6 separate regions of the Homo sapiens genome follow, and regions 2, 3, 4, 5 and 6 are each linked to region 1. The links are contacts of gene promoters, found by promoter capture Hi-C in blood cells and fetal thymus (Javierre and others, 2016). All regions are on one chromosome and are shown on one strand. Each heading gives the region's core, a stretch centred on a gene start or on the middle of the fragment in contact. The rest is flanking DNA. Distances are from core to core; before and after follow the strand shown. Region 1 holds the start of PIKFYVE (phosphoinositide kinase, FYVE-type zinc finger containing). Region 2 holds the start of TYW5 (tRNA-yW synthesizing protein 5). Region 3 holds the start of XRCC5 (X-ray repair cross complementing 5). Region 4 holds the start of ATIC (5-aminoimidazole-4-carboxamide ribonucleotide formyltransferase/IMP cyclohydrolase). Region 5 holds the start of BARD1 (BRCA1 associated RING domain 1). Region 6 holds the start of WDR12 (WD repeat domain 12).

The links. The method cuts DNA at HindIII sites, captures the fragments that hold promoters and counts their contacts. A CHiCAGO score of 5 or more calls a contact.
Region 2: the fragment with the promoter of TYW5 here is called in contact with the fragment with the promoter of PIKFYVE in region 1 in 1 of 17 cell types (non-activated CD4 T cells); the score reaches 5.6 in non-activated CD4 T cells.
Region 3: the fragment with the promoter of XRCC5 here is called in contact with the fragment with the promoter of PIKFYVE in region 1 in 1 of 17 cell types (total CD4 T cells); the score reaches 5.1 in total CD4 T cells.
Region 4: the fragment with the promoter of ATIC here is called in contact with the fragment with the promoter of PIKFYVE in region 1 in 2 of 17 cell types (non-activated CD4 T cells and naive CD4 T cells); the score reaches 5.5 in non-activated CD4 T cells.
Region 5: a contact is called between the fragment with the promoter of BARD1 here and the fragment with the promoter of PIKFYVE in region 1, in 3 of 17 cell types (naive CD8 T cells, non-activated CD4 T cells and fetal thymus). The highest score is 11.4, in naive CD8 T cells.
Region 6: the fragment with the promoter of WDR12 here is called in contact with the fragment with the promoter of PIKFYVE in region 1 in 2 of 17 cell types (non-activated CD4 T cells and total B cells); the score reaches 7.3 in non-activated CD4 T cells.

Annotation. Positions count from the first base shown.
Region 1 is chr2:208,264,671-208,268,045 of GRCh38, reverse strand. It overlaps PIKFYVE (phosphoinositide kinase, FYVE-type zinc finger containing), which reads right to left and starts at 1,791. Exons shown (of 42, transcript NM_015040.4): 1 at 1,631-1,791. RefSeq lists a silencer at 1,505-1,774 and an enhancer at 1,905-1,954. The HindIII fragment of the contact is 8,601 bases long and covers 1-3,375 here.
Region 2 is chr2:199,953,598-199,956,972 of GRCh38, reverse strand. TYW5 (tRNA-yW synthesizing protein 5) reads left to right here and starts at 1,482. Exons shown (of 8, transcript NM_001039693.3): 1 at 1,482-1,580. The coding sequence starts at 1,503. It overlaps MAIP1 (matrix AAA peptidase interacting protein 1), which reads right to left and starts at 1,391. Exons shown (of 5, transcript NM_001394955.1): 1 at 725-1,391. The coding sequence starts at 1,174. RefSeq lists enhancers at 959-1,058, 1,079-1,238, 1,409-1,528, 639-1,838. The HindIII fragment of the contact is 7,808 bases long and covers 567-3,375 here.
Region 3 is chr2:216,107,528-216,110,902 of GRCh38, reverse strand. It overlaps XRCC5 (X-ray repair cross complementing 5), which reads right to left and starts at 1,555. Exons shown (of 21, transcript NM_021141.4): 1 at 1,446-1,555. The coding sequence starts at 1,466. RefSeq lists an enhancer at 1,210-1,831. The HindIII fragment of the contact is 16,954 bases long and covers 1-3,375 here.
Region 4 is chr2:215,310,296-215,313,670 of GRCh38, reverse strand. It overlaps ATIC (5-aminoimidazole-4-carboxamide ribonucleotide formyltransferase/IMP cyclohydrolase), which reads right to left and starts at 1,612. Exons shown (of 16, transcript NM_004044.7): 1 at 1,510-1,612; 2 at 1,047-1,173. The coding sequence starts at 1,528. LOC124907975 (a long non-coding RNA gene) reads left to right here and starts at 1,699. Exons shown (of 2, transcript XR_007088075.1): 1 at 1,699-2,992. RefSeq lists silencers at 1,268-1,637, 1,648-1,727 and an enhancer at 1,258-1,908. The HindIII fragment of the contact is 8,450 bases long and covers 1-3,375 here.
Region 5 is chr2:214,807,962-214,811,336 of GRCh38, reverse strand. It overlaps BARD1 (BRCA1 associated RING domain 1), which reads left to right and starts at 1,654. Exons shown (of 11, transcript NM_000465.4): 1 at 1,654-1,925. The coding sequence starts at 1,768. It overlaps SNHG31 (small nucleolar RNA host gene 31), which reads right to left and starts at 1,108. Exons shown (of 4, transcript NR_110292.1): 1 at 905-1,108. RefSeq lists a silencer at 1,176-1,745 and enhancers at 2,296-2,375, 2,666-2,715. The HindIII fragment of the contact is 4,673 bases long and covers 927-3,375 here.
Region 6 is chr2:202,909,890-202,913,264 of GRCh38, reverse strand. WDR12 (WD repeat domain 12) reads left to right here and starts at 1,592. Exons shown (of 13, transcript NM_018256.4): 1 at 1,592-1,829. The coding sequence starts at 1,789. It overlaps CARF (calcium responsive transcription factor), which reads right to left and starts at 990. Exons shown (of 17, transcript NM_024744.17): 1 at 163-990. RefSeq lists enhancers at 710-759, 860-1,059, 1,100-1,249, 1,260-1,409. The HindIII fragment of the contact is 1,677 bases long and covers 676-2,352 here.

The DNA.
Region 1 (3,375 bases), core at 542-3,041:
CTACCCAAAGCCTTCTGATATATCACCAATACTTCACCATTTCTAATTAAGGCTACTAATATATGCAGACCTACTACAAACTATCAGAAGCCAGTCAGTAAAGGCCGGACGTGGCTGCTCACACCTGTGATCCCAGCACTTTGGGAGGCCGAGGCAGGAGAATCCCTTGAGCCTGGGAGGCGGAGACTGCAGTAAGCCGAGATCACACCACTTCACTCCAGCCTGGGCGAGGGAGGGAGACCCCCGCCCGGTGGCTCACGCCTGTAATCCCAGCACCTTGGGAGGCCGAGGCGGGTGAATCGCCTGAGGTCAGGAATTCAAAACCAGCTTCGCTAACATGGTGAAACCCCGTCTCCCCTAAAAATACAAAAATTAGCCGAGTGTGGTGTCGCGCGCCTGCAATCTAGCTACTCAGGAGGCTGAGGCAGGAGAATCGCCTGAACCCTGGGAGGCGGAGGTTGCAGTCGGAGGAGATCGCGCCACTGCACTCCAACCTGGGGGACAGAGCGAGACTCTGTCTCTCAAAAAAAAAAAAAAAAAAAACTGGCAATGTAATAATTTAGGAAAGCTGAATATTGGAAATGTTAGCTTCTATCAACAAAGATTTCTTGTTCAATTTTTGACCAACACGCTTAAAGGAAAACCAGAGCAGGATCCAGAAAGCAGAAAAAGGGAGAACACAGGAAATTAGCCTTGCTCCACAGAAGAGATTTAACCTACACAATCTTTGTCACAAACACAAAAGAAAGAACATTTTTTGTAAGAAAACTGACAGAGTGGGAGTTTTGGAGTGCCAAAAAAGGGGCTCAAATAAATCAGAAATAAGTACATTATACCAAGCGACTACCTCTATTGTCAACACTGGACATATTTTACAACACAGGATGCACTGCGTCAATAGTAGATAATGAATCATGTATACACATCAGATACACACGAATAACTTGCTTTATACAGAATTCTAGCACTTCTTATATTTCTTGACTGTCTTAGGAATAACCTCTGATTGGGCAGAAAACCCCTAAGTCCTAAAAGTTTCCAACACATTCCATTCTCATCCTTTTGTTGGGAACATTCTAAGCAAAGGGTAAACACTAATTGGGAAATAATGCTCCTCCTCAAGAAACTCCAAAACCTAAGTTGAAATGGAATCGTCTCAAATAGCAGAGGCAAGCATTTAAAAAGACAAACACTTATTTGAACCCCCACGGTTGGTATCGTTTCTGCAGCTCATGAACTTTCTTTTCCAGCCTACGGATGCGCCTCTGACAAACTCAGAACTCATGCACTCAGAGGGAAAAGTAACTGTACTCTTCCCCTCCTAATTAAGTTCAGGCGTAAGGGTCGAGAGAGAGGCAAAGGAACTTCAAATGTTTCCAAGGAAATCTCAAGGGCCCCACCCGGCTTCCGTCCCCACTCGCCAGACAAGGCAGCCGGGGAATAGGGAGGACAAGCTAATTCTAAAGCCAGATTCTCTGCCCTTCCTTGCTCAGCCGGCAGCCAGGCCCTAGCCCCCGACTGCGGAGCCCTGGTTCTCACTTTCACCTCAGCTCTGGCCCTGGAGCTCCCCATACCGGCCTCCTTCCCATGCTGAGCCCCAGCCGGCCAAGCTCCAGGCCCCCTCCCTTACCTGCGCCTCCTGCCCCGGCCGCGCCGGCTGCCCCCCGCCCCAGCCTCCGCTTCAACGGCTCAGCCCCCGGAAGTCGGCCCCCGAGAGCGGCGGTGGGCTCCTCAGGCCGCGGACGGTTGCGGCAGGAAGCGAAGCTGCTTACATGGTTGATGCGGCTTCTCGCTTCCCCCCCCCAAGACTCCGCCCTCTGTTTTCCTGTCCCCCAGTCCGAAATCTTTCCCGGGGGCCGGCTCCTCCCAGCCCGGCCGACGCTCGGATCAGATGCTCAGGCAGAAGGAGTCCAGCCCAGATCGAGTCGTCCTGATCTTTTGGCCGAGATTAGGCCGCTTCAGCCTTCCTGGAAGAAGCCAGGGGGACTGCGCGCGTGAGCGTCACGCATGCGGGGTCAACGGATGGGTGCTTGGTGCTCTGGGCACTGCAGGGGTGCTGGCTGGACTGCGGTTACCGTATGTGTTCGATACTGTGGGCACTCATAATATGTTATTGCTTTGTTGTAGACAGTTCACTCGTGTAGCACTGAACCGGAGTTAGCGATGACTCTGTTTCCAGACTTGCATGACTCCACCAATAACCAGCCATATGATCTTAAGCAAATTGCTCATTTATTTAGGCCTTAGACCTCTGGTGTGTAAAGTCGGATTAATAAAAGGACTCACTTCTTAATACTTTTTTGAGATTAAGTAAATGCACTTAAAGCGAATGGCACAGTTCCCTGACCCAGAGTAAGTGATGTCGGCTTTATAGTTAATTTTTTCATTTAGGTGTTGTGTTGCAAATGCTGATGCAAATAAAGTTACCAAGCCCAAGCCCTATCTTGTTCAGCTTGGCTAGAGTTATTCGTCATTTCTGTCCTGCTGAGAGCGCAGTGCAGTTAACTGCAGAAAACATGCTCGCCGCAGTTGTGGGGCTTGGTAGGGGAGGATGGAAAGCAGACGAAACCTAAAGGGAAATGCAGTTTTAAATTCTGTGAGTCCTTTTCCTCAAGAGTTTTGTCAAATCCCAGCCCAGTTTTCCTGGAGTTGGAAAGCACCATCGAAACCTGCAGGTTGAGTCCAGTGCAAATCCCAGTCACCATCCTCAGCTGGGCCCTTCAGCAATCTTTCTGGGAGTCTGTAGTCAGCTTCTCCCATTCCTTATTACTGCTGCGTCAGACCACCACCACGACCCCCACATTACCTTGACCATCATTCTCATCAGAGAATCATATTTTATACCCACGTGAAAAATCCCAAGGTATCTGGGCGTGACCCTTAACAAGCTAATTCCCCACACACCACAACATTTACCTACATCCACATCTGCCCTGGTCTGCCTTTCTCCCTCATCTCTCTGAGGAAGGGGCCTCTTCTTCCCCAGCTCAATCCTTTTGGCCCCCAATTCACCCTCTCCTGTCTGGGAGCTTGCACCGTATCTGCAACCTCCCCTTTTCCAATGACTCTGCCTCCTCAGCCCATAAAGATGCTCAAGTCTCTGCCTTCCTTTAAAAAAATTTTTTTTAAAAATTTAAGATAAGCAAAAAAGGCCCTCGTAATTATCACCCTATGTTAATATTTCATAAACCTACAATAAAGTATGAAATAGGTACAGAGATCATATGAAAAGAATAAATTGCCCAGCCACGACGACTGCAGTGTATGTAGAAACTCCATCTATGGTTTAAAAAAAAAAAAAAAAAGTGCACTCCGCAAATATTTTTGAGTCCCTAATTTAACCTGCAGTGTGTTAGTTATAGAAGCACTACACTA
Region 2 (3,375 bases), core at 233-2,732, 8.3 Mb after region 1:
AGGTATAATCAGCCATTCAGAAACAGGTACGTAACTAACAAAGTCAGGGATAAGAATCTCTAAAGGCTAAATATTTTCTGTGTGCAGGGTGCTGTGCACTTAGCCACCAGGCAGTCTCAGCAAATCCTTTGAAAGGGTAAAATTGCTCATCTCCAGTTTAATCTTTACGGAGTATGGGGTGGTGTATTGGTCGGCTCTGTCTAATAGCTGGCAGGAAGTTCTGCTCTTCTACCCAAGGTGACATTACAGCACTTTGGAAATGTTATCTCAATTATTCTTCAATCTTACCCATTTATTAATGTATTCAGCAAACATTCATGGAGTGCCTACTATGTGCCAGGCATTGTCTTGCCCACTTTGTAAATTTGAAAATTATGTTCAGACAAGATGAGCCATATAGCTTTTTCTTTCTGAGACAGGGCCTGGCTCTGTATCCCAGGCTGGAGTGCAATGGCACGATCACAGCTCACTACAACGTCCAACTCCTGGGTTCAAGCGATCCTCCCCTTCAGCCTCCCAAGTAGCTGAGACTACAGGCGTGTACCACCATTCCCGGCCCAGAAGCTTACTTTAAGTCAAGCAATGGCTGGAAGGCTCTATGTCTGGGCCACTAATCACGTTTGATCACTTGTATCCCAGTGAAGAAAACTCACTGCTAAGCACTTCTGCGAGCAATAGTTGAACTCATTAGAGACGGATAGGTCAATCAGGGAAATAAACAAACCTGCTTCGCTCCCTCGGAGAACTCTGTGATGCTGAACTCTTTGTCGAAATAGGCCCAGATAAGGAAGGCCTTAATTCGAGTCCTAACCCAGTTGATGGGGTTGGAGAATCCCAGGACGATCATCTTGGTTTTCTGGTGCTGCTGGGGCTTCTCCTCCGTGCTGTAGCTGCGCTGAGGGCAGGCAGGGAAAGAAGCGAAGGCTGCGGGGAGTCCCGGGCTGCTGAGCACTGGCCACCGGGAGCCCTGGGCAGGTAGCGCCGAGGCTGCCAAGGCCCTAGCGCTTCGTGGAAATAACGCCGCTCCCAAGCCGAGGCGACAGCGGCAGAAGTAGCAAAGTGTGGCCGACGGCAGCCTCACCTCGGCCACAGCAGGAGTCCGGAGTCGGACGGCCCCGCAGGGCAGCGACCGAGAGTGCAGGAACTGGGGTAGCAAACGAGCGGCCAGCGCCATTTTTATGACCCTTCACACCGGTGCCTGCCGGTGCTGTATGGAAAGGAAGTCGGTGGGAAACCGCCTCAGCGGTGTCGGAGAAAGAGACTGGAGAGCAAAGTGGACCTGTTGCTGCAGCCTCTGGTGAGTCGGCCCCGTCCCCGCTCTCCAGCACGCAGCCCAGGCCGAGGCCCTTCGGCAACCCGCCCCGCGCTCGGACCCAGCCACTCTGGAGTCTGCCGGCCTCGCGGACCTTTTCTCTGTCGCTCGTGTTTCCGGGCGGATGGCGCTGAGGAACGCTTTAGAGCCGAAGTTCCGAAGACCTGGAAGAGGGCAGGCGTGAGCAACCATGGCCGGGCAGCACCTCCCGGTACCCCGGCTGGAGGGCGTTTCTCGGGAGCAGTTCATGCAGCACCTCTACCCACAGGTGAGGCCCTCGCGCGGGGCAGAACCTCGAGAAACCAGCGAGAGACACGTCTTTACCTTTCGGACAGCTGGGAACTGGTTTTTAGAGACCCAGGGTGTGGGAAAGAGGCGCAGGACGGCAGCAGATCACTGGTTGGCCCTTAGACCAAGGGAAAGGTGCACGGGGGACGCCGACTGGCTCCTCTATTGAAATTTCCGGAGAAAGTCCCATGTTTCTGGGGAGCAAGATGATGGCGGAGAGCTGAGTGCGAGAGGTATTTTGCCTAAACTCTTTACTCCGCATCTGTCAGTCTGCTCCGAATTAATGGATTTGAAGGCACAACTTTTCACTCCACTGAGCCAAAAAGGAAAGCAATGGGATTCCCCCGGAAAACTCCTACTCGTCTTGAATTCTAACTTACTTAGGTTCTAGTTCCGACATTGGAGTCTTTTATACCTGTAGTTAGAACCTTAGGTCTTTAAAAGAAAACTCATAGAGAAATATTAGGGAAACAAAAAGTGCTTTTACTTGCAGTGCTTTTCAAGGGAGTCCAGACCTAAGAAAAACAAGGTATTAAAAGGAAAAATCCACAGGATTACAGTAAGTCAGTTTATGGTAGGAAAAATACCCAGCAATTTTCTTACCTGATATTTACATTTATAAGGGTGGTCATAGAATTACAGTTCTGGGGCCGGGCGCGGTGGCTCACGCCTGTAATCCCAGCACTTTGCGAGGCCGAGGCGGACGGATCACCGGAGGTCAGGAGTTCAAGACCAGCCAGTAGAAATCCCATCTCTACTAAAAATACAAAATTAGCCGGGCATGGTGGTGGCCCATACCTGTAATCCCAGCTACTCGGGAGGCTGAGGCAGGAGAATCGCTTGAACCCGGGAGGCGGAGGTTGCAGTGAGCCGAGATCGCGCCACTGCACTCCAGCCTGGGCAACAAGAGCTAAACTCGGTCTCAAACAAACAAACAAAACTACAATTCTGAGTGTTACAAAAGTCGGATGGGCTGGGCGCCGTGGTTCATGCCAGTAATCCTAACATTTTGGGAGGCCCAGGTCGGTGGATCACTTGAGGTCAGGAGTTCAAGACCAGCCTGGCCAATATGGTGAATCCCCGTCTGTACAAAAAATACAAAAATTAGCCGGGCGTGGTGGCGCACGCCTGTATTCCCAGCTACTCTGGAGGCTGAGGTCGGAGGATCTGCTTGAGCCCGGGAGGTCGAGGCTGCAGTGATCCATGATCCTGCCACTGCTCCAGCATGGGCGAGAGGGTGAGACCCTAGCTTAAAAAAAAAAAAGGCGGGGTTGGGGGGATGCGGGAGGAATGAAGTTTTTCTTTTGATAGCAACCTACGGGAGAGGATTCAAGCCTTTATTAGTTTGGAGACTTGTACTAGATGGGTTGTTCTTGCTCTCCCTGTCCTTAGACACCCCCTATCTCAGAATGTGCTAGACGTAAGTTGCCTAAAGGGCAGTGTTGTGAAGATTAGGGTATGTGGAAGTGCTTTGTAAGAGTCATAGCAAAAGGTATTTTGTAATTTAATCTCTTCAGACAAGACATACAGCACAAAGCATCATTACATTTTAAAAAGTCGAAAATTACAAACAACTTTCTCTGGCCATGGGCAGTAAAACTAGAAATTAATAACAAAATTGGAAAAAAAGACCTTTCTATCTGGAAACACTAAAAAGTATGAGGGGGCATAGTGCTATGAGTTTTTTGTTAAACATTTTCTAATAACTCCATAATTAACACTGTATATTGTACAGGTACATGAATAGATAGACCAAGGGAATAGAATAGAAAGTG
Region 3 (3,375 bases), core at 306-2,805, 7.8 Mb before region 1:
TGAAAAAAAAAACGTGCTAATAAACCACAAAATTCCTTTGAGAACAGTAAAATGCACATCCCAGTTTCAATGCCTGGGGCATGATAACCTAAAAAAACTTAAGAGTCACAAAATATGCTGCTGCACTTATTTGATACACACCCACAAAAGCTACTTTTAAACCAGAAAACTCTAGAGGACTAAAGCACTTTTGTCATGAATTAGGTATCCAGTAAGTGCCATCAAAGGGTTTCAAATATGGAACTTATTGTCTGGAAGCAGAATGGTCTATATTTCTGAGTTCCTATCTGGCAGCAGTAAGAAAACTGAGAAAGAGAAACCGGGTAGCATAGCAACTCTTCATTTCTATACCGAAGCAATACAGGCTGTTAGAATTTTACTTCCAGTTCATCTGCAACAAACAGCTCCTCCACTAGAGCTACAAAGTTTTCAGCAGCTGAAAGAGGACGAAAAAAGGAGGTGAGTGGCATTATTAAAAGTTCATGATCGTTTTAATCAACATTTCTCAATGAGGAGTTGAGGGAACTAGGGATCAGTTGCTCAAACTCGTATCTTGTTTATCTGTATTGAATAAATTCATTAATCCCTGGAACCACATCTCCCTCTAGTGACCCTTCAGAGACAACTACCACTCTTTTATGTTGAAAAAAAAAAATCACTTTAAAATTCATTGTAATTTCTGTTACTGATCTGGGACACCAATGGTCATAGATTTCTAGCAACACAGGGGTTCTCCAGGGCCCTGAAACCAGACAGCTTGGATTCAAATCCGGATTTCACCAGGAAAAGCCCACAGTTCTTTATTCCTCGGTTTTCCCACTTGCAAAATGGGGATAAATAGTTTTCACTTCAAGGGGTTGTGAAGATTAAATGAGATAAGAATAAAAGGTTTAGATCCGTCCCTCACAGAGTGGGCTTTCAATAAATGCGGGATACTACGTTATTATAAAGCTAATAATACGACGCTTTACAGTTTAAGTTATTTTAGTCACAGATAGTCCCTCTCTTAAGTTTTACAACAAGCCCTGTGGGATAGTTGCTTTATCACAGCTAATTTTCATTCTCATAGAGATCTTAAGAACCCAGGCTCGGAAGTAATAGAGGAAGTGGGGCTAGGGAGTGGAATGGGATAAAGAGAGAGAGAGGGGAGGCGGGTGGGGAGGCAGGTGAGACAAAGAGCAGGTAGAGAGGGAGAAGAGGGATGGGATGGGTGGGTAATGGAAGAGGTGGAGTCAGCGAGGCTCAAATTCAGGTCTTGGAGCCCCAAATCTCCAGCTTTTCTCATAGCGCATCCCTCGGTCCCGGCCCTCCTGACTGAGCCCACCACCATGATCTTCTCTTGCCCCATTCTTTGTCTTGACCGCGATCCCACGATTCCTGCTTCCGAACCACCCTCTCCGGATCCCCAGTCCGGGTAAAGCCCAAGTCCATGGCTTTCTTTATACCTTATTCCCCGACCGCACCATGTTGCCGGTCCTCAGGCGCTTTGGTCGCTTCTTCCGGGCGGGAACCTGCCGTGTCGCAACTCGCTTCCGGTGGACAAGCGGCAGATAGCGGAAAGAGCCGCTTCGTTTCCTGCTAGGCCTGAAAGGGGCGGGGAAACCGTGCCCCGGAACTCTGAGCATGCGCAGATTCCCGCCGAGCTTGCGCAGATTCCCGCCGAGCTCGCGCAGATTCCGGCCGAGCATGCGCAGATTCTCTCCGAGCATGCGCAGATTCCCGCCGAGCATGCGCAGATTCCCGCCGAGCATGCGCACATTCTCTCCATTCCGCCGTAGTCGGGAGCGTGTGGTGTTTGAGCCGCCTGAAACGCTAGTACGACAGATTTACTTAAAGATTCACTTAATCACTTAAAGATTCACGTCCCTTTTCTCTCATTGAGAATAACACCTAAGGCATTTTGTGTCAGAGCTCTGGAGTTAGATTTCTTTTCTTTTTTTTACTTTTTTAAAAAATCTTTTTTCCTTTAATTTCATTTTTTCATTTATTTTTTATAACTTTTGATTTTTTTTTTTCTCATCACTTGTGGGTTTTTTTCTACTTTTTATTTTTGGTTATTGTGGAGTTAGATTTTCTTGAGTATGAGTATGAATGCAGAAAGTCACTTAACTTCTCTAAAAGACTCAGTTTCTTCTAAAAAGTGATAATGAAACACTTCACCGATGTGATAACCTTAGAGCCAACTGGGGAAGAAGAGTAGGACGTCCCCAGGAGCACAAAAGTAGAAGGGAGATTCTACTCTGCAGAGAAAATGGGATGCACAAACGCCTGGAGGCATGAGACTTTATCTGCTAAGGCTCTCCCAGTAGTTAGCAGTGGCTCCAGCTTGGAAGGGAGGAGTCAAGGTTTAATTTAGAAGACAAGTCTAGGGAGATATAGAAATAGCAGCTGTCATCACAGTGCTTTACTTGATCACGAGCCCTTTGTCCAGCCCGCATCCCCTACCCCTTTGAGGGAGGCAGGCCCAAGCAGTACCTTGCATAGAAATGACTGCTTTCTATACCATATGACCCCCAGCTGACAGGTGGCTGGACGAAGGGTCTGGCAACCTGCAAAGTGTCTGCAAACCTCTGCCCAAACTGAGAAAATCAAGTCCAATCAATATTCTCTCCTGCTTGAAAATTGTTTCTGGGAAAAGCAAGAATTGAAGCTGAAAAGATGTGGAGAATCTATGAGCCAAAATTATAAATACATTGAAGCCTCTAGAATGTAGAGTCAGACATATTCAGAGGTGCTCATAGAGCCCAGGAGGTTCTTCCAGCTTTTGATTCAAACTCAAGGAGTTACTTAAAAGCTGAAATATTATTTTTAATAATACTTTAAAGGAACAGCAGCGCCCTGGCCGCTCAGCTTTGCGCGGGCTGCAGCAGGCAGGCAGGCAGGCACGGACACTCGCCCTTCCCTGCGGGTAAGATTTCCAAGAGAAAGATCAGCTCGGCAGAAGGGGCGGGGAAGATCTGTGAGGTTGTCAGCTAAATCTCCTCCAGCAAAGGTGGAAACGAAGCCCAGCGGAGGCAGCAGGACAGCATAAATTTTCAGACAAAGAAGCAAACAAGGAAAAATGGGAGCAAAGGGCAAACAGGCCAAGTGGCTATCCGGGAAACAAAAGATTTATCTGTGGAAAGCGGAGAAACTGAAACAAGGAGAGTCCAGCCTCTGGTGAAGCAGGACAGAAAGAAGCCAAATCTGATTAGTATCACATACCATATCTTGTCAGTGGTCCTTGTCTCCCTTCTTGTACGATCCAGAGCTAGAGAGAGAGAGAAAAGGAAAGAAACAGACAGGGTGTCGCTCGGCCGAGGCTGGAGTCCAGTAGCACAATCATAGCTCTCTGCACCCTGGAACCCCTGGGCTCAAGCGATTCACTTACCTCAG
Region 4 (3,375 bases), core at 363-2,862, 7.0 Mb before region 1:
CTCTACATGGATCTAGAAACCAAGAAGCAAATTTTCCACATGGCAACAAAAAGCAGACAGATATCCTTCATCTCTTTCATTCTAAAATATGTTTCAGGGGTGGTCATCTCGTTCCTCCCAACTCTCACTGCCGTTTATTAAATAGCTATCCTATAGTTTTTTTCATTTTTCTACCTTTCAGTAGACTTCCTCCCTCTCCTCCCAGAATGCCACTCCTTGACATCAGCAATGGCATCCTGGTTAATCATTTCTAAGTCCCTTCTTTCCATGGCCTAGTCAGCTAATGAAGGGCTTGTGAACGTGGGAATGAATGATTTGCACCTTCATATGGTTACCAGAGATTCTAAGGGAAGGCAGGTAAATTGGAATCTTCATGATGTCGAGTTTTATTAAATCACCAGTCAAAGTAACTGAAGTTTTCCTTGCATAACAAGTGGCCCACCTAAGTTAATCTGTTTAAGGAAGGGGCTAAGACTAGTGTCCTAAAATCAGGAACAGCACGGGTTCCAATCCTACTTTTCCCTTACTCAACTGTTTAAACTTGTGCAGAAGATGCTAAATCTGTCCAGTGTGTTGTCCAGGGTCTTTCTCTGTCACCCAGGATGGAGTGCAGTAGTGCCATCTCGGCTCACCACAACCTCCGCCTCCTAGGTTCAAGCGATTCTCCTGCCTCAGCCTTCCCAGTAGCTGGGATTACAGGCGTGTGCCACCATACCGGCTAATTTTTGTATTTTTAGTAGAGACGGGTTTCACCATGTTGGCCAGGCTGGTCTCGAACTCTTGACCGTAAGTGATCAGCCCACCTCGGCCTCCCAAAGTGCTGGGATTACATGCGTGAGCCACCTAGCCCAGCCGTCCAGGGTCTTAAAAGTTGCTAAATCTCTCTGAGCCTCACTTTTTTTCCCCATAAAGTGGGGAAGTATTACACCAACCTCACAGCGCTACTGGGAGGAGTAAATAAGGCGTTTTGCTGCTGGTGCCTGGAATACAATACTTCCTGGTTAATGTGATCACACTCCTTTCTGATGGAACTAGCTATGCCTTACCTGACTGCCAGACCAGCATCCCTGAGAGCTTTTGCAGTCCCTCCGGAAGCGACCAGATTCAAACCAAGAGCGGTCAGGTTTCTTGCAAATTCCACAAGGCCGGTTTTGTCAGAGACACTAAATAAGGCTGAAAGAGAAGACATTTTTTCTCATGATTCGCAGCACATTGCACTGTGTTCTGCAAGGCCTTGGGAGGGTCTGGGGGAGGAGATTCTCGAATCGCAAGGCCAGCACCTGGACCCTGCGTTCGCAGGCCTGGTCCGGGCCTCCCCAGGTCTTACACCCGCGAGCTGCTCTAAGGCGGGCCCCACGCAGGCTGCGGCCCGGCCGGGGAGCGGGGACGCTGGCTTTCAATCCCGCAGCGCCGCCCCTGCAGTGCCGGGTCCCGCCGGCCGCCGCCAAGGCGGGAGCGTGGGGGGCCGCAGGCGAGGACGCAGACCGCGCCGCTCCGCTAGGGCCTCACCGAGCTGGCCGGGAGCCATGGCTGCAGGCACTGGGTTCAGGGCGAGCGGGAGGCAGCAGCGGCGGCACCACGTGCGCAGGTAGGAGGGCTGCCGGGATGTGGCGGCTCAGGAAGCGAGGGGGCGGAGCTGTTTCCGGGCTTATCACGTGGCCCGCCGGCCCTGCCCGGCGCCCTGCTCTGCTCAGTTTCAGATGCAAGATCCGCGCCCCGGGGCTGAAGGGAACGGCGGGATGGGGTGGGGCTCTGCCTGGCGCGCCTGGGCGGAGTGCTTGGGCTGGAAGGGATCCTGCCTGCGATCCCGAAGTCCAGGCGTGGGAGCCAGCGATCTGCCCACGACCCCAAAGTGAGGCCACTCCACGGCCTCTGGGGCAAATGCCTGTTATTCTAGGCAGCCGGTCCCCAGAAGCTGGAAAGTACGTAAAAGTGCCAGAAGCTCCCATGCTGAAAACTAAACAAAAGGAATAGTTCATATAGCGGCAAAGCTGGAAAGTATCTGGACAGTTATCTACCATCCTCCCTTTTTGTTTGTTGTTTTTTTGTTTTTCTGGGTTTTTTTGTTTTTTTTGTTTTTTTTTTTTTTTTTTGAGATGGAGTTTCGCTTTTGTTGCCCAGGCTGGAGTGCAATGGCGCGATCTCGGCTATGTCACGTGCAACCTGCAACCTCCACATCCCGGGTTCAAGAGTTTATCCTGCCTCAGCCTCCCGAGTAGCTGGAATTATAGGCAGGCGCCACGATGCCCGGCTAATTTTTGTATTTTTAGTAGACATGGGGTTTCGCCATGTTGGCCAAGCTGGTCTCAAACTCCTGACCTCAGGTGATCCGCCTGCCTCGGCTTCCCAAAGTGCTGGGATTACAGGGGTGAGCCACCATGCCCAACTTGTTTTTTGTTTGTTTGCTTGCTTGCTTGTTTGCTTGTTTGTTTTGAGACAGGGTCTCGCTCTGTCTCCCAGACTGGAGAGCAGTGGCACCATCTCAGCTCACTGCAACCTCTGCCTCCCAGGTTCAAGAAATTCTCCTGCCTCTGCCTCCACACCCGTCTAATTTTTTGTTGTTGTTGTACTTTTTTTTTTTTTTTTTTGTATATTTAGTAGAGATGGGGTTTCACGGTGTTGGCCAGGCCGGTCTTCAACTCCTGACCTCAAATGATCTGTCCACCTCAGCCTCCCAAAGTGCTGGGATTACAGGTGTGAGCCACCGTGCCCGGCCCCATCCTCCTTTTTAATAGGCTTAAAAAATAAAACCAAGGACCAATGATTTAAGTGAGGGACTCCAGAGGCCACAGATGACAGTCAAAACGAAGTGAAATTGACATTCGTTGTTGATTTTCACGTCATAAAATTATAATTTAAATATTAATTTATAATACTATTTTATACAATTTAGTCAGTATTGTAAAAGTGCCTAAAAACTACTTAAAGATGGTGTCTTCTTGCAAACCTGTAAATATTCCTGGATGAGAGGAATGATGACAGTCAAAAGAAGGTAAGAGAAGACCTTTCTTAATTCATTAAAAACAGGGAAAGCAAAATTGAACACATTTGTTTCTTTCTAAAAATGACACCTTTGCCACAAAATAAATACATATTGTGGTCTATGAGTCTTTTTTGTGTTATTAGAATTATATTCCAAAGTAATAGCATTGTTTATCTTTTAGTCTGAGCTCACAGCTGTAAAAATGAGTCTATTTTCTCATTATCTGCATGCTATTTATTTTTGTTTTTCCTCTTCCTTTCTCTAATTCTTCCCATCTCTTTACTCCCCAAAATAAATACCTATTGACTAGAATCAATTTTTTTTTTTTTTTTTGAGACAGAGTCTCGCTCTGTCACCCACACTCTCGCTCTGTCACCCACACTGGAGTGCAG
Region 5 (3,375 bases), core at 405-2,904, 6.5 Mb before region 1:
GCGATATTGGGAAATGAGTCACATGCAGCCAATCTCTGGCCTTTTGGAGGTTTTGAACTAGAAGGGGACACGCACATAATCGTATGTGTGTGTATCTACATACACAGGTGATATGATGCACCTGAGAGAATCCAGTCTAGGAACTAGGAAAACCTTTAAGGAGTGATACTTCAGCTGTATTCTGAAGGATGAGGAATGGAGAGGAGGCCAATTCCAGGTTCCAAAGTGAATCTTTGCGCAAAAGCCATGAGGCAGCAAGGTGCAGGGGCTTTTAATGACCTAAGGGAACGCACTGTGGGGTTGGGACCATGATGGCCAGAGGAGGTTTTGACAAGAGGCTAGTCAAAGAGCAGAGAAAAACTTTAAGGAGTTTTAAGAAAGGGAAGTGCCACGATGAGTTTTGTGTTTGGAAATGTTTTAGGCGGCCACACCGCAGTCTCGGGACTGGCTGGGACCTGGATAGACACTTGGATATCAGCTAGAAAGCTACGACAGGAAACCAGGCGAGGACGAGGCAACTGGGGATGTTGTGGAGCAGAGACGGAGAGAAAATGGGTGCATTCGAGACAAGTTAGGGGGAAAAAATGCAAGGACTTGGAAATGAACTTGGGGCGCGGCAGGAAGGCATGACGGGTTGCTCTGTAGGTCTTATCTGTAAATTACGGCGATCAGTGAAAGATCTGGAGGAGGAAGGTGGACACACTCTCTAACAAAAAAAACCCTTTTTGAAATTTTATACCAATATTTTAAAAGTAAACCAGATCTTTTCAGACATGCCTTTGAGCTGATATTTGTTAACTAGTTAGAATTAGAAACTTTCCTTATTTTTACTCAGTTACAATATACGCCACAGCTGAGGTGAGAGGAAAGAAAAGGTTGCTTTCTTAGGAACAAAGAGTGGTACCTTCAGTATCGTGGGCAAAGCTTTTCCAAGTCCAACAGCAGTCAAAACAGCGCTTTTTATAAATAACACTCAGCTAAAAGTTTCTGGGTTTGTGATTGTTCCAACGGTTAAGCTCGGATGAGGGTCCCTGGAGTCGTAGCTCCCGGGAAACGTCGACTGGCTTTCCACCTGGACTTCATCCGTCCAGGCAGCCCAGAGGGGCTTCAGGCCCCGCCCGCTCTCCTGCCAACTACAGCCTCGCGACTGCGCTCAGCCTTCAGGCCCCGCCCCTTCGGTCAAGCGGCGTGCTCTCACTGCACGGCGCCTGGGCCCCGCGCGCCGGGACCTCGGTTTCAGCCGTCCTGTCCTGCCCCGAGGCCCCTAGGCCCCGCCCCTGGGCCCCGCGCGCCAGGACTTCGGTTTCGACCGTCCTGTCCCGCCCCGAGGCTCCTAGGCCCCGCCCCCTCTGTCCCCGGCGTGTTCTCGCGGCTCCGCCCCTAGGACCCGCGCGCCGGGACTTTGGCAAGTTTCAGCCGTCCGGCCCCGCCCCCTCGGTCCCACGGCTCTCGCGGCCCCTCCCCTAAGTCCCACACGCCGGGACTTTGGCAAGTTTCAGCCTCCAGCCCCACCCCTAGGTCCCGCCCACTCGGCCAGCGGCTGGCTCTCGCGGCCCCGCCCCTGTGCCCTGCGAGTCCCTATTTTGGGAGCATTGCGGCCGCCGTGCCCCGCCCCTCCCCGCGCGCCCCGCCCCTCTGGCGGCCCGCCGTCCCAGACGCGGGAAGAGCTTGGCCGGTTTCGAGTCGCTGGCCTGCAGCTTCCCTGTGGTTTCCCGAGGCTTCCTTGCTTCCCGCTCTGCGAGGAGCCTTTCATCCGAAGGCGGGACGATGCCGGATAATCGGCAGCCGAGGAACCGGCAGCCGAGGATCCGCTCCGGGAACGAGCCTCGTTCCGCGCCCGCCATGGAACCGGATGGTCGCGGTGCCTGGGCCCACAGTCGCGCCGCGCTCGACCGCCTGGAGAAGCTGCTGCGCTGCTCGCGTTGGTAAAGACGGAGCTTCTTGGGGGTGGCTGCGAGGGCACGGGTCGCACAGTTTCTGGGGGCGGCAGAATCTTTTCAAATCTTCCGTTTCCTCCTTCCGTTCCCGCGCTGCAGTCGGGTCGGCGTGCGGTTAGCACCTGCCGGGGGATATAGTATTAACAACTTCTGCTTCTCATTCACTTTATTTTTGGGCGACTTACCGGCCTCCCCTTGCCCTGAATCCAACTGAAACGGTAGTTTTTGAACTTCAGCGGGCTGAAGAACCGTCTGGAGGTGTGGCTAAAAAAATGTTCATCCCGGTCGCGCCTCCAGAGTTTGAATCGGGCTGGGGTGGGGCTGAGGCTTCTGCATTTTTTACCCGGCCCTGGATTACCCCGCTGCTTTCCGGGAGCTGTGGCGAATTGGGCTGGCGGGCCGCCCCGGAGACCCTCTAAATTAGAAGCAGCTGCCACTCTAAGTTAAACTGGCCTTTTTGACATTTTCTCCGTGCCAGCTTTTTCGAGTGAGATGGGATGGAGCATCGGATATCTACCATAGTTGTAGATTGAAGATGGCACGGAATTTCTCATTTTCTTAGTTTGCTCAAAAGACTGTATGTCTGGTGTCCCCGCTCTTAGTGATGCTGTTTATTGTTTTCCTTCATGCTGTCACATTATGGGAGTCCTCTCAGGGTTTTCATTCCGTCCAAAGACATTTTCATGAGTGTTACTTCTTGCTTTTTTTCGTGTAGCTCTTTCTAGTATACAAACCAAGAAGGTTTGTAAAACCCAAGAAAGGTTTGTCTCATTTTCATTTCTTCTGAAAAGCATTTTTATTGAGCACTTGCTGTGTGTACAGCTAAGTATTTCTGTATGAAGATCACTGGCAGTTTTTTTGTTATTTGTAGCTGTCAAAAGTTTATATCCTTTTTGGACTTTTTTCCCCTTTGATTTCTAACTTGCAGAACTTAAGTTACCTAGTTGCATAAAGTATAAGTAACACAACTTTTTCTTTTCTTTCCTTTTTTGAGACGGAGTCTCGCTCTGTCGCCCAGGCTGGAGTGCAGTGGCACGATCTTGTCTCACTGCAAGCTCCGCCTCCCGGGTTCACGCCATTCTCCTGCTTCAGCCTCCCAAGTAGCTGGGACTGCAGGCGCCCGCCATCATGCCCGGCTAATTTTTTGTATTTTTAGTACAGATGGGGTTTCACCGTGTTAGCCAGGATGGTCTCCGTCTCCTGACCTCGTGATCCGCCCGCCTCTGCCTCCCAAAGTGCTGGGATTACAGGCGTGAGCCACGGTGCCCGGCCAAACTTTTTCTTTAAAAATGAAAAGGACTTAACTGTCAGAGTTTTGCACTTATATTTTCTTTGACGAAAACTTTTAATATCTGTGACAAAATGACATTGCACTTCTTAGAAAAGTGACACTCAGATAAGTGAGTACATGAAGACATTTGAGTTGTGTGTTTGTTTT
Region 6 (3,375 bases), core at 343-2,842, 5.4 Mb after region 1:
TTGCTCTCTAATAAAAATTATTTTTTCTTCCAATTGTTTAAATCTCTTCTCATTCTCTATTTAAATATTAGGCGTTCATTTAAACATTAGGCGTCTACCTTACAGTAGGACATCTTTAAACAACGTAAAAAAGGAAAGCTTTGTCTTCACCTGCACACATACCGGTCTGCCCATAAATTTTGCAATCCAGTTCTGCCTGATTCTAAACTGCTTGTCTCTTGAAGCGAATGCCTTAAAAAGTGACATTGGGATCAGGATAGTTATCTCCATCCATCCTCCCTCAGAAAAACAACTATATTAGAGTAATTCTTGGGACCATTGAGAACAATACACAGGCCTTTGGGTAACTTCAAGACAAAAAAGGCAAAAAGTCGGGGAGAAGGTGTGGGAGGATGATTTTCCCCTTCTAAACGTAAGGTATAAAAGGGCTCAGAAAGCGGAAAAAGAACCCTAAAAAGCAAGGTGCGGGACGGCGTGAGGGACCACACATTGGGCGCTCCGCCCAAGGGGTCCGGCTCCTTCTCCGCGGCGATGGCGCGTCCTTGGGCTCAGCAACCCTCCTGAAGACACCTAACCTCCTCCTTCTCCAGCCTGCCCCTCTGGGGCCTGCGAGCCCCGTCCCGGGCCGGGGGTCGGAAGCCGTGCCATGTGGGACCCCGAAAAGGCCCCCAAGCTTGGCGCGGAAGGCGCCGCCAGTGACCGGCTGCGGCTGGGGGCGGAGGCCGGCAGTTGCTCGGAGCTCCGGCGGGTCAGGAGGTGACGGGAGGAGGAGGAGGCAGGAGGAAGACGGGGGGTTGGGAGGTAGCGTCCGGTAGGTCTGCGCAGACAGCGCTGCCAGACCTCTGACTCCCCCAGTCCTGCCGCCGCCGATAGCCCCACAAGGCGACATGGGAAGTCCGCCGGAGCAGAGGGGAGAAAATTCAAAACGAGTCTACTCAACCTCGTCTTGGCTCCGAGGCCCCGCCATGGAGACCAGCATAATGCGCAGGCGCGCCCCACCGGGAGCGCGCAGAGCAGTCCCACGACAGTAGGACCACTATCGGCCACCGTCGACCGTTTCCTCTCTCATCCGTTCTTTTCTTTGTATTTCCGCCTCTCGCCTCTCTCTAAAAGCCGCAGTTAGAGGCGAGATTTAGGAAAAACCTCTGCCGAGTGAGCCTCTGGTTGGGAATATGTATGAGAAAAAAAAACTGGCAAGGCGTTAGTCAAGCAAAGCTGAAGGCAGAGGAAATTTGATATCTGGCTGGAGTCTAGAGGATTTAATGCAAATAAGATACTCTGAGGGCAGCGTGGCAAAAAAAGACTACAATTCCCGGTGGTCACAGCGTTTGAGAAGCGATGCTTTCTGAGACTTGTAGTAACTAGGAGCTGTGTTTGAACTATCCAGGCTCAGGACAGCCTCTTGAAAAAAAATTTTTTATTAATAAAGCGGATTTGAGTGGGATCTTTTTCCTAATCGATTACGGGCCCACACGTATGGGAAGAATTCTAACAATGATTAAAGGGACATGCTACCTTTACGACTATCCTTTTCTAATCGATGACTCCTAAATCTAGGAGTAGGTAGTCGATGTTTGTGGTCTGGGCGTCTGTAGAAGGGCAACCTCGTGCTTTCTGCAGAGGAGACCGGAGGGCAGAAGGCAGAGTCCAGGCTTAGACTGCAGTTCCTCGCTTACCTGTGCAGTCTAATTTTGAGCTGCCTCTTTGTAGTCTTAAAAGGCAGGAGCTTCGTGTTGTGGGTCTGCTAACCCGTACGTTTCCGTGGGCAAGTCGTGTGTACTCCTCGCCATGGCTCAGCTCCAAACACGCTTCTACACTGATAACAAGAAGTAAGTAAGCGTTCCAGCCTTCTCTCCCTTCCCCAGGTTCCTTTCCGACCACCCCTTTGGTATGACCTTGTGGATCCCTGGTTGTTTCTGCTGTCACCCCCACCCTTTTTTCTGAGATTACCTGCTTTCTAACCAGCTTCGTAGGTTCTATATAATTTGAATTGTGAGTGTGGAGGAGGCTGAAGGGCTTCAGGTTTGCTTTCTGAATGAAACATTTTATATGTGTAATTTAAAAATGAACAGTGGGCCTTGTTATAGGGTGTCTGCTAGTGGTGGTTCACAGTTTTTGAAAACGGAAAAAAAGTTTTTGAAAATGAAAAAACATATTTACCATTTATGTATATCTATATAGATATATAAACATTTTAACCAGTGGTCTCAAGGTCTGTTAGCACTCATTCGAAAACTAATTATATGCTGCCTTGTGGTATATATTGCATTGTTAGCTTTCTTTGTGTTTGCCTGGTCTCTTCCAACTATATTGGAAGTCTCTTGAGGGCAGGGACTATATATTAATTAAGCTTCTTGGATTGGCTGAGTCAACAAAAAATGTCAAATTTTTCAGTGAAAATGATAATATTTGTCGTGTTAATAAGCTAAAGTTAGCCATAAACTAGGAAACTCCCACCTGAGTTACATCTGTGGTTTTGTTTGTAGCTTTATGAGGAGAGCTAGTAAATCATCTTCTCTCCCCTTGTGTTGTTGCTGAAAGTATACATAAATCGTATTATCAATGCACCTGAGTATATGTACTTACTTACATACATTGCCTTAATACTTCTCTAGGAATGTGGTGATGCATTAACATAACCACTGTGTTTTTTAATTGAAAGTAGGTTTTTTTGTTTTTCTTAAAATAAAATTTTTTGAAATATGTGGGGCTTTTTTTTGTTTGTTTGGTTTGGTTTTTTTGGAGACAGAGTCTCACTCTGTTGCCCAGGCTGGACTGCAGTGGTGGGATCTTGGCTCACTGTAACCTCTGTCTCCCGGGTTCAAACAATCTTCCCGCCTCAGCCTCCAGAGTAGCTGGAATTACAGGCATGTGCCACCAAGCCTGGCTAATTTTTGTATTTTTAGTAGAGACAGGAATTTGTCTTGGTGGCCATGCTGGTCTCGAACTCCTGGCCTCAAGTGATCCGCCCACCTCGGTCTCCCAAAGTCCTGGAATTACAGGCATGACCCACTGCGTCCAGCCTTGAGATAATTGTTGATTCACATGAAGTTGTAAGAGATAATAGGCCACTGTGTTTTAACCCCTGAAATGAATGGATACATGTCATATGTGTGTGTGTGAATTTAGGCCCTCCAAAAGGTAAAAAAATGTAGAAATTAAAATTCTTTGCCGAGTGCTGTGGCTCATGTCTGTAATCCCAACAGTCTGGGAGGCTGAGGAACGCAAATCGCTTATCTCAGGAGTTTGAGACCAGCCTGAGCAACATGATGAAACCCCGTCTCTACCAAAAATACAAAAAATTTGCCAGGCATGGTGGTGCCCACCTGTGGTCCCAGCTACTTGGGAGGCTGAGGTGGGAGGATCTCTTGAGCC